Regions from separate parts of the Homo sapiens genome. Here regions 1 and 2 are each linked to region 3. Evidence: promoter capture Hi-C in 16 types of primary human blood cells and fetal thymus (Javierre and others, 2016). All regions are on one chromosome and are shown on one strand. The core of a region is centred on a gene start or on the middle of the fragment in contact, and the rest is flanking DNA. Distances in the headings are between cores, read along the strand shown.

Region 1 (4,108 bases), core at 1,299-3,798, 260 kb before region 3:
ATAAATCATGCTGCTATAAAGACACATGCACACATATGTTTATTGCGGCACTATTCACAATAGCAAAGACTTGGAACCAACCCAAATGTCCAACAATGATAGACTGGATTAAGAAAATGTGGCACATATTCACCATGGAATACTATGCAGCCATAAAAAATGATGAGTTCATATCCTTTGTAGGGACATGGATGAAGCTGGAAACCATCATTCTCAGCAAACTATTGCAAGGACAAAAAACCAAACAATGCATGTTCTCACTCATAGGTGGGAATTGAACAATGAGAACACTTGGACACAGGAAGGGGAACATCACACACCGTGGCCTTTTGTGGGATGGGGGAGGGGGGAAGGATAGCATTAGGAGATATACCTAATGTAAATGACAAGTTAATGGGTGCAGCACACCAACATGGCACATGTATACCTATGTAACAAACCCGCACGTTGTGCACATGTACCCTAGAACTTAAACTATAATAATAATAATAAAAAGAAAAAAGAAAAGTGACCTAGAGAGAAGGGGGTTTGGATAATAATATTCAGTTCCAAAGTCACTCACTGCTACCAAAAACTCTAGCAGGAATCAAAACCACCTCTTTTCCTAAAACAATGGAACTAAAATTTCTGGGCTAGAATTCCACCAGAAAATTTCCAGAATTTCCGGAGTTATAATTGCTCACTTGCATGAGTCGCTGATCAAAGTGTCCTTGGCTGATTTTCACTGGCAGTCATCCTCATTTCATAGGCATCTGATTCACTTCAGCCAGCCTTCAAGTCCCACACCCTCCTTCGTCATCAGCTAAGATTACCCTCATCAGACTGTGTTTCTCATGATACTTAGAGACAAAGAATTCACCAAGTTTTTTTTTTTTTTTAAGATGCTATCCCTTTGAAGTATGCCTTGTAGTCCCCCAAATCCTCTGCTGAGTTTACTTTGATGCATCTATAGTGCACTGGGTGATACTTTCCTATTTAGTTCTAAGATCATTTCAAGAACTTTGTGGAAGGCTTTTTGGCAGTCGAAACCATTTATATATGTGTATATAGAAGTATTTAACATTTGTTTAGTGCAATAATTTTTCTATCTCAGTGAAGAATTACCGAAGGAGTTTGTTCAAAATGTAGTTCATACCTGGAGATTCTAATTCAATAGGTCTGGAATGGGCCTTGGGAATCTATATTTTTAACAATAACTTTCAGATGCAAAGGTGAGAAGACTGCATTCTATAAAACACTTATTTGTTACTATTAATAGATATTAATAGTGTCAGGCAATTTGCTAAAAGCTTTACAGACTTTATTTTATGAAACTATCACATCAATGCTATAATGAAAATATTATTAGCCTCATTTTATAGATGACTAAAGAGGGCTGAGAAAGGGAAATGAAAACCCAAGGTCATTAATCAATTATGTTAGATCAGAAATTCAAATTAAATTAAGTCTATGTAGTTGCAAAATCCAAACTCTTTCAATTACATTACATTATAAAACAAATTCTGATGTTAAGGACATTACAATTCTAGCAAAAAAAAAAATGGCAATTCTCCATGAGTACATCTTGGGTTAAAAAATTAATCTGTTCTTTAGTTGAAATTTATGTATCCATCAATTTATGCTATATTGTGATAACAAACAATTCATGGGCAGTAGTCACTTAACACAACTAAGATTATTTTTCCCTGATGCTCCGTGACTACCTTGAGTTGTGCTGGGAATCCTGTACCATGCTGTCTCCATTCAGGGACACAAAGTTTTGAGCCACTATCATTTAGAACATCACCACTCCCTGTGGCAGGGGAGGGAAATAAAGCAAAAAGGCACCAGCTTTTTTGTTCACATTTCATTAACCAAAGCAAGCTGTATGGCCATATTTAACATTACAACGGTAGTGAAGTACAATTCTACCATGTGCTCAGAAGGCAGAGAGTTGAAAATACTGTAAACTGCACAATGGTTCACAGATAGATTAGAAACTGCTAGACTTGGAGAAGGAGGACGTGGGTTCAAATTCTAATTTCACAATGTACTAACCCTATGACTTTAAGCAAGTAAATAAATCTCAGTTTATTTCCTAAACAAGTATACTAATACTTATGCCATATGTTTGTTGTGAAAATCAGCAAGACCGAGTAAATTCAGTTTAGTGCCTGAAGCATAAGTGCTCTCACTAAAACTAGTGGAATTGGAAATAATCACTTTGCTGACTATCCTTACCTATCACATGCCAATGATGTTTCAGATTCACATAGTTTCTATTTTATTCTCACATTTCAATTTAAAGATGGTGTCTAAAGAAACCACTGGGTAGGGAGAATTAAAGGCAGCTAGCTTGCTAGTATGGGAAGCTCTCGTAAACTAGCTTTCTCAGTAAATAGACTCTAGGGTAGATATTTGTTTGCAGGAACAGTACCTGAAAAGGGATGAAGGAAGTAGGACTGAATAAAAGGAAAAACTGACTTGTAACACAGTAACAACAGAACCAATCTGCTTGGGAGCTCTGGAACTGGGGTGGCACTTCGGGGATGGTCTGGATTGTGGCATAAGATCCTGGGCTAACCTTGGACCAGGTGGTGCCCTTAGAAGGAAATGCCTGGAGAGGGATTCAGCTGACAGCCATAACCAATTCCTGGAGAGGGATTCAGCTGTGAGGCAGTCAACATTTGCTACAGCTGGGGAAACTAGGGGACTGAGGGTCTCAGGCCTGAATGGAGGGGTCTGAGAAATGGACCATGACACCTGCTTTGAAAGTAAACCTAGAGATAAAATCAGCTATAAAACTGAAAGACTATGGACTATGACGTCTTATTATTTTTCATTAAATCTTGCTTCCATTTGAACAATAAGTTAACTGAGGTACTTAAGGTTTAATATTCTAGTATATAAATAGTGACCCCAAACTGTTTCCTCTTGCCTGTCATTCTCATCCAGGAATAATTGACCTCCAAGGATTACTATCAGAATGTTAGATCTAGTGCCAAAAAGCAACTATTTTCATGACAATCGCCTCAGAAATAATTACTAGAGGCAAAAATCATTTTTGGCTTATTTTTAGCTTGGATGAAATACTTTCTAAACAGATACATCTTACACTAGAATATTGTACCTCTCTAGGACTTCTTAGGGATGTTCCAGTGAGGCACCAGGAGCCACAGGATAAAGACGGCACATTTTTGGAACATGGCATGATTGGATGACATGAAAGATTGTGAAGGGGGTCAACACATGATTTAGTGATTTTAAATCTAAAAAGCATATATACTGCAGAGTACAGAACTGCACTATTTTTTTTTTTGAGCCGGAGTCTTCCTCGGTCTCACAGGCTGGAGTACAATAGTGTGATCTCAGCTCATTGCAACCTCTGCCTCCTGGGTTCAAGCGATTCTCCTGCCTCAGCCTCCCGAGTAACTGGGATTACCATGCCCGGCTAATTTTTGTATTTTTAGTAGAGACAGGGTTTCACCATGTTGGCCAGGCTGGTCTCGAACTCCTGACCTCAGGTGATCTGCCTGCCTCAGCCTCCCAAGGTGCTGGGATTATAGGCATGAGCCACTGCGCCCGACCGATAAATTATATCTTTCAATAAATGTCATGGTAGATGTAGGGCATTCAAACCACATGGAGACACAAATTCATTTTGCTGTGCCTTTAAGGACACTTTCTAGAAACTTTTGGGAAGCATACTCTAAACTATTGCAGCTTTCTTACTTCTGGCTTATCATGATCTCTTTGAAATTTCACAATTTTCATACTGCAGAAACATATCTCCAGCAGTTGTTTCCTTGGGAATTAGAATAAATAAAGGAAGCTTATATTTCTGTAGAGCACAAAGATCAATTACATCATGTCTTATCCTTCAGTGAGGCTTTATGTTACCAAGCCCAATAAGCCTCCAAAGAGATATCAAGAATTCGTCACTCAAACTGTCTAAAATAAGGTCATGGTAAAATGTAAGTGAGAATAGGATCTGAAATGGAATTATTATGCATATCCCACAACCAAAATCTTTTTACATAGTTTATCTCATATAAACCAATTTTTGAGAAGCACTATTCTGATTCTATAAATAAATAAACTGGGACTAGGAGAATTTAGAAAAATGGGA
Region 2 (4,762 bases), core at 1,489-3,988, 230 kb before region 3:
GAAAACAGGGATAATAATACCTATCCAATAGGATTGTTGTATAAATTGGACAAAATCATATATGGAGAAATCCAACAGAGTTATTGACACATAGGAAATTACAAATCAATTAAAGACCCAACTATAAAGGGCTTGCCTCCTGTGTCAATGATGATATGATTTAGCATTCATTAAACACTTACTGTGTGCCAGGCACTTTTTGAATGGCCTTAGGTAAATTATCTCATTTGATACTCTTAACAACTGTATGTGGTATGTGCTATCATTTTCCTCAGTTTTCAGAACCCAGAACCTGAAATACAGATGGGTTAGTATAAAGTAGAACCTTGAAGCGAGCCAGTCTGACTCAAGGGCTAGTGCTCTTAACTTCTATGTTACACCAACTTCTCAGGTTGAATTTTAACTTAAACACAATAGTAATCTCTTAAAGGTTTAAACTAATGCAGTTTTAGAAATAATTTTAGACAGACTTGGTTTTCATAAAGATCACTCAGATGATAAAATAGGGAATACTTTGTGGTATGAAGATTACCATCTCTCAGTATTGCTAGTGAAATTAGGAGCAAAAACAATCATGTGCCAAGCAATTAGAGATATATGTGGTTCAAAATAACTCAGATAAATATATAACAACCCTGAAACCATTTGATGATTTTAAAGGGTTCAGACCAAAGTTAACCTACATGCTATTTTTTTTCAGAAAGCATAATTCTCCCTCTTTTCTTTTATGAAACAAAATCTAGCTTAATGGCAGGACTAAGGACTTTTCAGTTACTGACAGCATGCCAAGCCTTGGGATAAAACAGCCTTGGGCTCATAAAGAGATCAGTCAGGTATTCAGTATTTGCACGATCAGATTGCAAGTGATACATGAGGTCTGAGTTTAAATATCTCCAAAGCACGGGCATTCAAAAAAAGTAACCATGTGCTGCAAATTCTACATTCTAACAATTGCAACTGGAAGAAAGCCTAATCAAAAACAAAGAAAAAAAAAGTCTCATCTTTATTCCAGCACAGTGCCAGTTTCCATTTGCAAGTTGATGACAAAAACTTAAATTTTTTTGTGGCGATTGGCCTTCACTTCTCAATTTCTCTTCTCTCTCTCTCTCACTCTTCTAAACACACACACATATATACATACACATGTACATATACACATAAATATGTAGACACAAATATATATATATACACATACATATTCATGCATTCTTTAGTGACCAAAAAATTTTATTCTGATATATTGTGTTTAAATAAATTCAGCTCCTGACAACATGGATATTCTTTTGAACACTTTTAAATAACTCATGTTCTCTTTGATTCCTTGTATTATTTAGTAATTTAATTTTATGTTCTGGATTTCTTCAAAGCCTCAGAGCCTGCATCTATAAGTAATACATTCGAAACAATAAGAGCGAGCCTGTTATTTTCTAATAGAAGTATCATTTAATCCAGCAATTCCACTACTAGCTATCTACCCAAAGGAAAACAAATCCAGGCTGGGTACGGCAGCCCACCCCTGTAGTCCCAGCACTTTGGGAGGCCAAGGTGGAGGATTGCTTAAGGCCAGGAGTTCAAAACCAGCCTGGGCAACATAGTGAGACATTGCCTCAACAAAAAATACAAAAATTAGCCAGGTGTGATAGCATGGGCCTGTAGTCCCATCTACTCAGGAGGCTGAGATGGGAGGATCATTTGAGCCCAGGAGCTCGAGGCTGCAGAGATGTTCATGCCATTGCATTCTAGCCTGTGTGACACTGAGACCCTGGCTCAGAGAAAGACAGAGAGAAAGAGAGAGAGAGAGAGAAAGAGAGAGAATTTACTTAATGGGTAATGGGTACAATGTACATAATTTGGGTCACGGATACAGTAAAATCCCAGACTTCACCACTGTGCAATATATCCATGTAACGAAATTGCAGTTGTACCCTTTAAATTTATATAAATAATCTCATTAATGGGTATATACCCAAAGGAATACAAATTGTTCTATTATAAAGACACATGCATACATATGTTCACTGCAGCACTATTCACAACATCAAAGACATGGAATCAACCTCAATTCCCATCAGTGATAAAATAGATAAAGTAAATGTGGTCCATATGCACCATGGAATACTATGCAGCTATAAAAAAGAATGAGATCATGTCCTTTGAGGGGGATGGATGAAGCTGGAGGCCATTATCCTTAGCAAACCAATGCAGGAACAGAAAACCAAATATTGCATGGTCTTGCTTATAAGTGGAAGATAAATGATGAGAACACATGGACACATAGAGGGGAACAACACTTTCTGGGGTCTAATGGAAGGCGGAGGGAAGAGGATCGGGAAAAAATAACTAATAGGTACTAGGCTTAATACCTGGGTGATGAAATAATCTGTACAACAAACCCCATGATACAAGTTTACCCACGTAACAAACCTGCACATGTACCCCTGCACTTAAAAGTTAGAAAAAAAATAGTAAAAAAAAAAATATATATACACATTAAAAAAAAAAGTCACCCATCTAATACTTTGCTGTAGGAATCAGTTAGCTTTCCCCTTTTTGACATATCTATATCCCTGTACATAATATGTTATGCCTTCCTTTCTCTACTTATGCGATGCTTTATTTGCTCCTACTTTCTACTTTTCATTGAAAAGCACTCATGTATTTTTCTGTGTGTTTATTATGAACCTAATGCAATGAAACAACTAAAATAAAATTAAATTCATCATAGTTTATAATGTCATTAGAAAGGTATGATACAGAAACAGAAAATAAATGTTAAATGATTTGGCAAGGGTAGTTTATCCTACAGAAATTTGGGTGAGAAAGTCTGACGAGGATGAAGGTGAGACTTGGACAGTGCTTTGAAGATACCAATAGCTTCCTAACTGATCTCACTGTTGCCAATCTTGCTCTTCCTCTTATGATTTCCTTACCAACAGATAACAACATTACAAAAGCAAAGATCTGATCATAATATTTCTCTGTACAAATTCCTTCTCCCCACTGATTACATCCTCACCAGCATTTATTATTAAAATTCATTGTATATGGAAATAAACCCAGATGCAAAGTTGCAGACTTTCTTCCTTCCCAGAACCTTGAATATCCTCCTAGTTTGTATTCTAGTTCCCCCATCGACCCCTGCCTCATTTTCCTGGGTCTAGATACCATGCTCAGCTATTACTTTGCTGGATCATGATACACTATGCCCACCTACCTCACCCAGGCACTAACTCACTGGGAATCTTTAGCCAAAATTTAGAATCATGTTACTGTCCCTATTTGTGCCCCAGAAACTTCAGCAGCTATGTTCCATCAACTTAGAAGATGCCTCCTTTAAATATCTATACTTCCTGGATCATACTACTGTATTTCCCTGGAATCCATAAATTGAACTGTGACTTCCTTTTATTCTATACCAACTTACATCTGAAGTGGTAGATTACTTCATATGGGTAGATTTAGAACACTGTGTTTCATTTGGCTCTTCCATTTTACTTTCTCCAAGAAAAAGAATGGAAGATAATAGGAAGCAATATGTATAAGACTGAATTAAGACAGAATTATTATCAAATTGAAAGACAGTGAGTTATGTTATTGGCTTTCAACATATATCAGACAGACCATGCCTCCTTGTCTAATAATAAAGACTTCATTTGGAGGTCCCAGAACACTAAATGATATGAAGCTATGGGTTAGGGGATGGTCAATTTACAGAGGCATGGGATCCTGGTTAACAAAAATTTTCTAGAAAGAAAAGAACATGAGTAAAGCTAATTTAGGGCACCATGATACATCTACTTATGGACATATTTGTAAACTACCAAGACCACCCTGTTTCATAATAGCCCAGTCATAGGTAGAATAATTACCTTTAAGAAGAATATAAAAGTACTAATGCTAAAGAAAGCAGAAATAATTCTCTAAGTCATTATTGGCTAAGAGTGTTGTATAATTTGCAGGTACATTTAAAGGAAGAATTACTAACTCAAGGCCTACTGCATTGCATTTCAGAAAATATACATTGAAAATAACGTGACATAATAGAGAATAGGTAAATGTCTGTAGCCATGGGCTCGAATACTGATTCTTCCAAATACCCTGAGCAAGGATCTTGGTCTACTGAACCTCAGTTTTCCTATCTGTAAAATGGGCTTTTAAAACCTGTTCTATTGACAGATTGTTTTGAAGAATAATACAAGTAATGCACTGCCATTCAAAAGGTAGTTATTTTATCTATTGTCATCGCTATTTAGACAGGCACAGTGTCTCAATATCAGGTTAATATAATGTCTTATTTTTGACATGTAAATGGCCATTAAGTGTTTTAAATCCTTCTTTAACTAAACAGGAGATTTGAAGATCAGCTTTTGAGTCCAGAGATTTGGGCAGAGGCCAAAATAATTCAGCTGCCAGCTACAAAGTACCACAGCAAGTGCCAAAAACGCTACTCATTTTTGAATGAGAAAAATATCTCTGCCAAACCAAATCTTAAGCGTTTTTATAGTTCTTTCCCGTATGTTCCTATAAAAAGGTCATTTTTTACATCTCATTTTTGAATGGAGCTGTCAGAATAACAACTTTCAACTGTCTCCCAAGCCTCAAAAATTGATCCAGTTAAAAAGAATTTGAGGATGGGAAGTATTTTTAGAGAATCCAGTGACTTGTGCTTTGAAGTCATGGACAGCACAGATTGAAATAAACACAAATAACTGACCTCTAGTTTGTACTTGGTCCATCCAGGTCTGCTTCTGGAGAGACAGCT
Region 3 (4,432 bases), core at 416-2,915:
AACTTTTGGTTCAGGATTCTAAGAGTGGCTGGAGAAGATGAGTTTAAACATTCTCTTCATAGAACTTATTTACTAACATAATAACCTAAAAGTAATAAACAGAGTGAGATGTAATAACTGATTCTGAGTTTTAAAATACTGTGAGAGAAAATGTAAATACCAAGCTTTTGCTTAAGGAGATAACTTCATTAATATAATTCTGCCTATCTATGTGCTTACCTACCTTTCTGCCTAGCTATCATACAAAGTAAATATTTGCAAATTGTTTATGTTCTAAAACTGATCATTCATGTACAGCATAACCAAAAACTTGGCCAGCATTCAGCAGCAATTATAACAGAGGAAAAGCATTCTCTCTGTGGTGTTCAATATCAATTTACTAAGTTGTCCTTGATAGACAGTTCCAAGGTTGCATATGAGTTCAAACCTCAATAGGTTTCCTCCAGGATATATGCTTTAAGTTGGACAGGAACTTGTTAAGCTCCACAAATAACATTGATATAACAAATTTAAGCTTCCTGCTGAATATTAACTGTATACTAAATACTACATTGACACTAATAATAGCTACTATTGAGCATTTATCAGGAATGTTGAAATGATAGAAACTTCACAGATTATTGTAACTCACTTCTGCATTTAAAGCAAGAGGAACAAGTTGTAGAGAAATCAGAGTGATTTATCCAAAGTCAGTTGGTGACAGGTAAGAGATCCTGGCTTTTAATTCAATGCTATTTCTATTGCATCCGCTGGTTTTAAATGGCCTTCCATAATTTGATGGAGTCTGATAAGGCTCTTTGGATTTTTAGAAGGTAATTTCCTGTACCTGGTTTGTATATGTCACTTCATCCTCAATTTTATGTGAACATATTACCATTCATATCACGTTAGAATAAAAGATACTGAAGGGAAGAGTCTGACAAAACAGATAAAATGGCTTTCTTTGTTAAGATCAAACACATTCTGTATAATATATGTATCTACATATGTATATATATCATTATGCATTTAATACAATGTCAGAAGCATAAATCAAATATATTTTTAAATATACCTTGTTTTTCTCTTCCATACATCAAGCATCTACCTTATATTCTGCTGTTAGTTTTTCACTAATTTGTGTCCAGGGAATGTATATTTGCTCAAGAATCAGTCAAAGTAAAACTTTTTTTTTTTCTGGAAAAATTATGTAATATGCACATACATCTACACACAAACACACATATACACAGAGACACATGCAGATGGACTCAAAAGTCAAATGTCTATATAAATATGTATGTTTGTAAACACACATCTATACACACACAAATAATCTATTTTATCTGTGTGATGTTACCTCTATCAACACATATAATTATGAAACTATTTCTATAATTTGTATGTCTAGATGCATAAACAATGCATATTTCCTATATATTTTTTTAAGTACTTCTTTATGTAACAGTTGTTTGTAGATGTGTTTGGGGACAACATCTCTGGTTGGTTTGTGGTTGGTTTATATTTTCATTTAAATCTATACAGTCCACTGCTTACTTTGTAAACCCCATAATTCAAATGTATAGATCATCCAGTATTCAAGATTAATTAGTATCATGGCTCTTTTCATCTCAGAAAACACTATTAAGACAACATTCTAAACATTTGAGGGGAATAATCTTAAAATCATATTATAGGTTTTTTAATTTTTTTGAAAAGTAACTGGCTTCACAAACACCAAGTACAACATGATTTAGACAACTGAGAAACAGGCAAGTATATTTTGAAGTGCTAAAATAAAACATATTTATACAAGTACAAAGCAAAACAATGCTGATAAAAATGTTAAACTTTATGAAAAAAAATCATTTGCAGTTCACATCAAAATAATTTAACATTCTCTATTATTTTAATAGTACAAGCTGCCACAACAGAGAAAGAACAGATACACGCACACAATTTTAAAACCAAATCAGTTATAAGTGCAGAAAAAAGTAAGTACAAGCACTTTTAGCCCACACAAATCTTTTAGGATTGGCACCATCTTTCTAAAACATCTATAATCTATATAGATTTCTAATTACAACACCATCAGCAGCTGCCATTGATTTCTAGAAATACACACAATATACATAGTATATTTGTTCACATTGGGAAGATCAGTGAAATTCAACCAACTATTTTATACATGCCTCATTCTTCAATAGACAGTAGAGACTCTCCCAGGCCTCAGACCCTCTTCAAAGTGAATTCTGACTTGTCTTTATGCTTTCACTGATCTGTATTTTTTCACAGTATAAAATTGTAAATGGTAACTATAGAGATTCTGACAGCTTGAGGGTTATTAATAAGCTGTTGCTAAATGTGAACTCACATAATACCTTTGAAGTCTCCAAAACATGTACATTTTACTGGGAGACTAGCATAGGAAATGCTTTTGTTTTTTGTTATTCTTAAAAAGAGCATTTAATTCCTGGCTTGGAAGTCACAGAACTGCAGCAGAGCTATTATACAATTCATTTACAGTCAGAAATAGCTCCTAGTCTTCCTGATCACTTGCTGGTAACAGCAGTAGTTTGGGAAAGATAGTTACTTTCAAGGATTAGCACGTTTGGGGATTTGCTTTTTTTCCTTGCTTCAGTCAAATCTCTTATAATTTTTCTTTCCATACTCCCTTTCTGTTCCCCATCCCTAGCCCAGAAAGACGGTTCTTCCCAATCCAGATATGTTCTTCTTAGGCTGCCCCCACTCCTTTCCCAAAATGGAAGGATGAGTGGACTGCTTAGATTAGTCAGTATAACTTGGTTAAACCACGTCTTCTTCTTTCCATCCTGGGACATATCTCTCATTTAGGGTCACTTTGCTGAGCCTTAGCATATCCCCTTCCTTTTAGTCATGCTGGTCCCGACTGAATTATCACTGGGCACCAGGAACAGATTGTTTTGAAGGAAATTCAATGAGAATGTACCCAAATGAATTGTGAAGTTCATATCCTATAGCCCTAGAATGAATATTCAGTTCTCTTTGTACTGTAGAGTTATTACTTGGAACCTGGTATTAGAATTGGCAAAGAGACAGAGTTAGCATCATTCCAAAATAAAAGATCTCAAGAATGCATTACTAATAATCTTATGTCCAACATACAATGTATTCAATGGAGTGGCAAAAGTTATAGAAATACAGAGAAAAATATATCTTGTCCTTTTCTAATTGGATAAATCATTTTTATTATTACAGTTGATTATGATAGCATGTGGAAGTATCAGATGGCAATTTACTTGCATTAAATTTAATTTCTGATGAAGTTTTTTATAAGGTAGTGTGCTTTTTAAGAGATATGTTACTAAAAAAATAGAAAATGAATTTGACCATGAACAAAGTTTAAACATGTTCTTCAACTGGTCTAGAGTGAAACGTATTGTACTTGAGAATAAAATGAAAATCAACATAAGGATTTTATAAAACAAATTTTAAAATGTAGAGCATATCAAGAAAGGTTTTTAATACCTAAGAAGTCAAGATAGGAATCCTCAGGTGAATGCCATCCTTTTGATGAGGATCCAAAGGGTATTAACACCTCAAAAGATTTCCATTTGTTTTTCAGATAGAGGCAGACATTTGCTTTTAATGAAACCATGAAACTTAGCTAGATTTCACTTACATTTTAAAAGCCTCGGTGTAATATTTGGGATCAGGGTGCTGTGATGATGTTATTTTCAAATCTAGCATGGGAGGTTCGATTTCTTTTAAATTAATACTTTAGTACATTAATGTTAGCTTTTAATGTTTTGTATTGGGAGGTTTGACTTAAAGTTGCAAGTAAGAACAAATAGCAGAAAAGAAAACTCAAGCAGAATATTTATTAGAATTTTTTAAAGTGAAGAATGATAAATTATGCCAATGGACTGACTTCTATTTCTCAGTTTATTTTCTGTTAAGTAGATGTGAAATAAAAAAAAATACTTACCAAAGTAAGGATATTGAGCTAAAAGAAAAAGTTTTATTTATTATTCTCTCTGCCAAAATATACTTCTGCCTCACAGCACATATTTTTCATAAGGCTATCTTAAGTATAAGGCTGGGTCAACTGAACTTTAAATTTATAGGACACCTCCTCCATTTATTACTATCCTTATTTAAAAATCAAAACATTTGGTACCTGAGGATAGCTGCAATGGGAGGAAGAAAGAGATGACAGTGGATTCAGGTCTTGAACTATGAATTCTACCTATTTGAGACTATCAAAGCACACTTGTTTCTGTTATACTCTAAATCTCTTTTCTGTAGTTTTAAAAAGTGACAGTATGAAGTGCACAAAATCATATTAATCATTATTTTAAAAAAGAAAATAAGAATTGCTTTGCCTCTTTTTGGAATGGCTAAGAAAGACTGTGTGGTTAATATTCATTAAGGTTCCTCTTTTTTAGTATTTTGTATTGCTTTGAAAAATCTA

Evidence for each region. Contacts are between HindIII fragments. The CHiCAGO score rates a contact against its expected background, and 5 or more counts as called.
Region 1: a contact is called between a fragment that was not itself captured here and the fragment with the promoter of GRM5-AS1 in region 3, in 3 of 17 cell types (neutrophils, activated CD4 T cells and M2 macrophages). The highest score is 7.0, in neutrophils.
Region 2: a fragment that was not itself captured here is called in contact with the fragment with the promoter of GRM5-AS1 in region 3 in 1 of 17 cell types (neutrophils); the score reaches 6.0 in neutrophils.

The regions. Positions count from the first base shown.
Region 1 is chr11:88,246,127-88,250,234 of GRCh38, forward strand. No RefSeq gene overlaps it. Among named protein-coding and RNA genes, the nearest start is that of MIR3166, 72 kb to the left of the region's middle. RefSeq lists an enhancer at 162-1,361. The HindIII fragment of the contact is 2,522 bases long and covers 1,288-3,809 here.
Region 2 is chr11:88,276,730-88,281,491 of GRCh38, forward strand. No RefSeq gene overlaps it. Among named protein-coding and RNA genes, the nearest start is that of CTSC, 59 kb to the right of the region's middle. The HindIII fragment of the contact is 10,000 bases long and covers 1-4,762 here.
Region 3 is chr11:88,502,911-88,507,342 of GRCh38, forward strand. GRM5-AS1 (GRM5 antisense RNA 1) reads left to right here and starts at 1,666. Exons shown (of 6, transcript NR_049724.1): 1 at 1,666-4,432. GRM5 (glutamate metabotropic receptor 5) reads right to left here. Exons shown (of 10, transcript NM_001143831.3): 10 at 1,732-4,432. The HindIII fragment of the contact is 8,959 bases long and covers 513-4,432 here.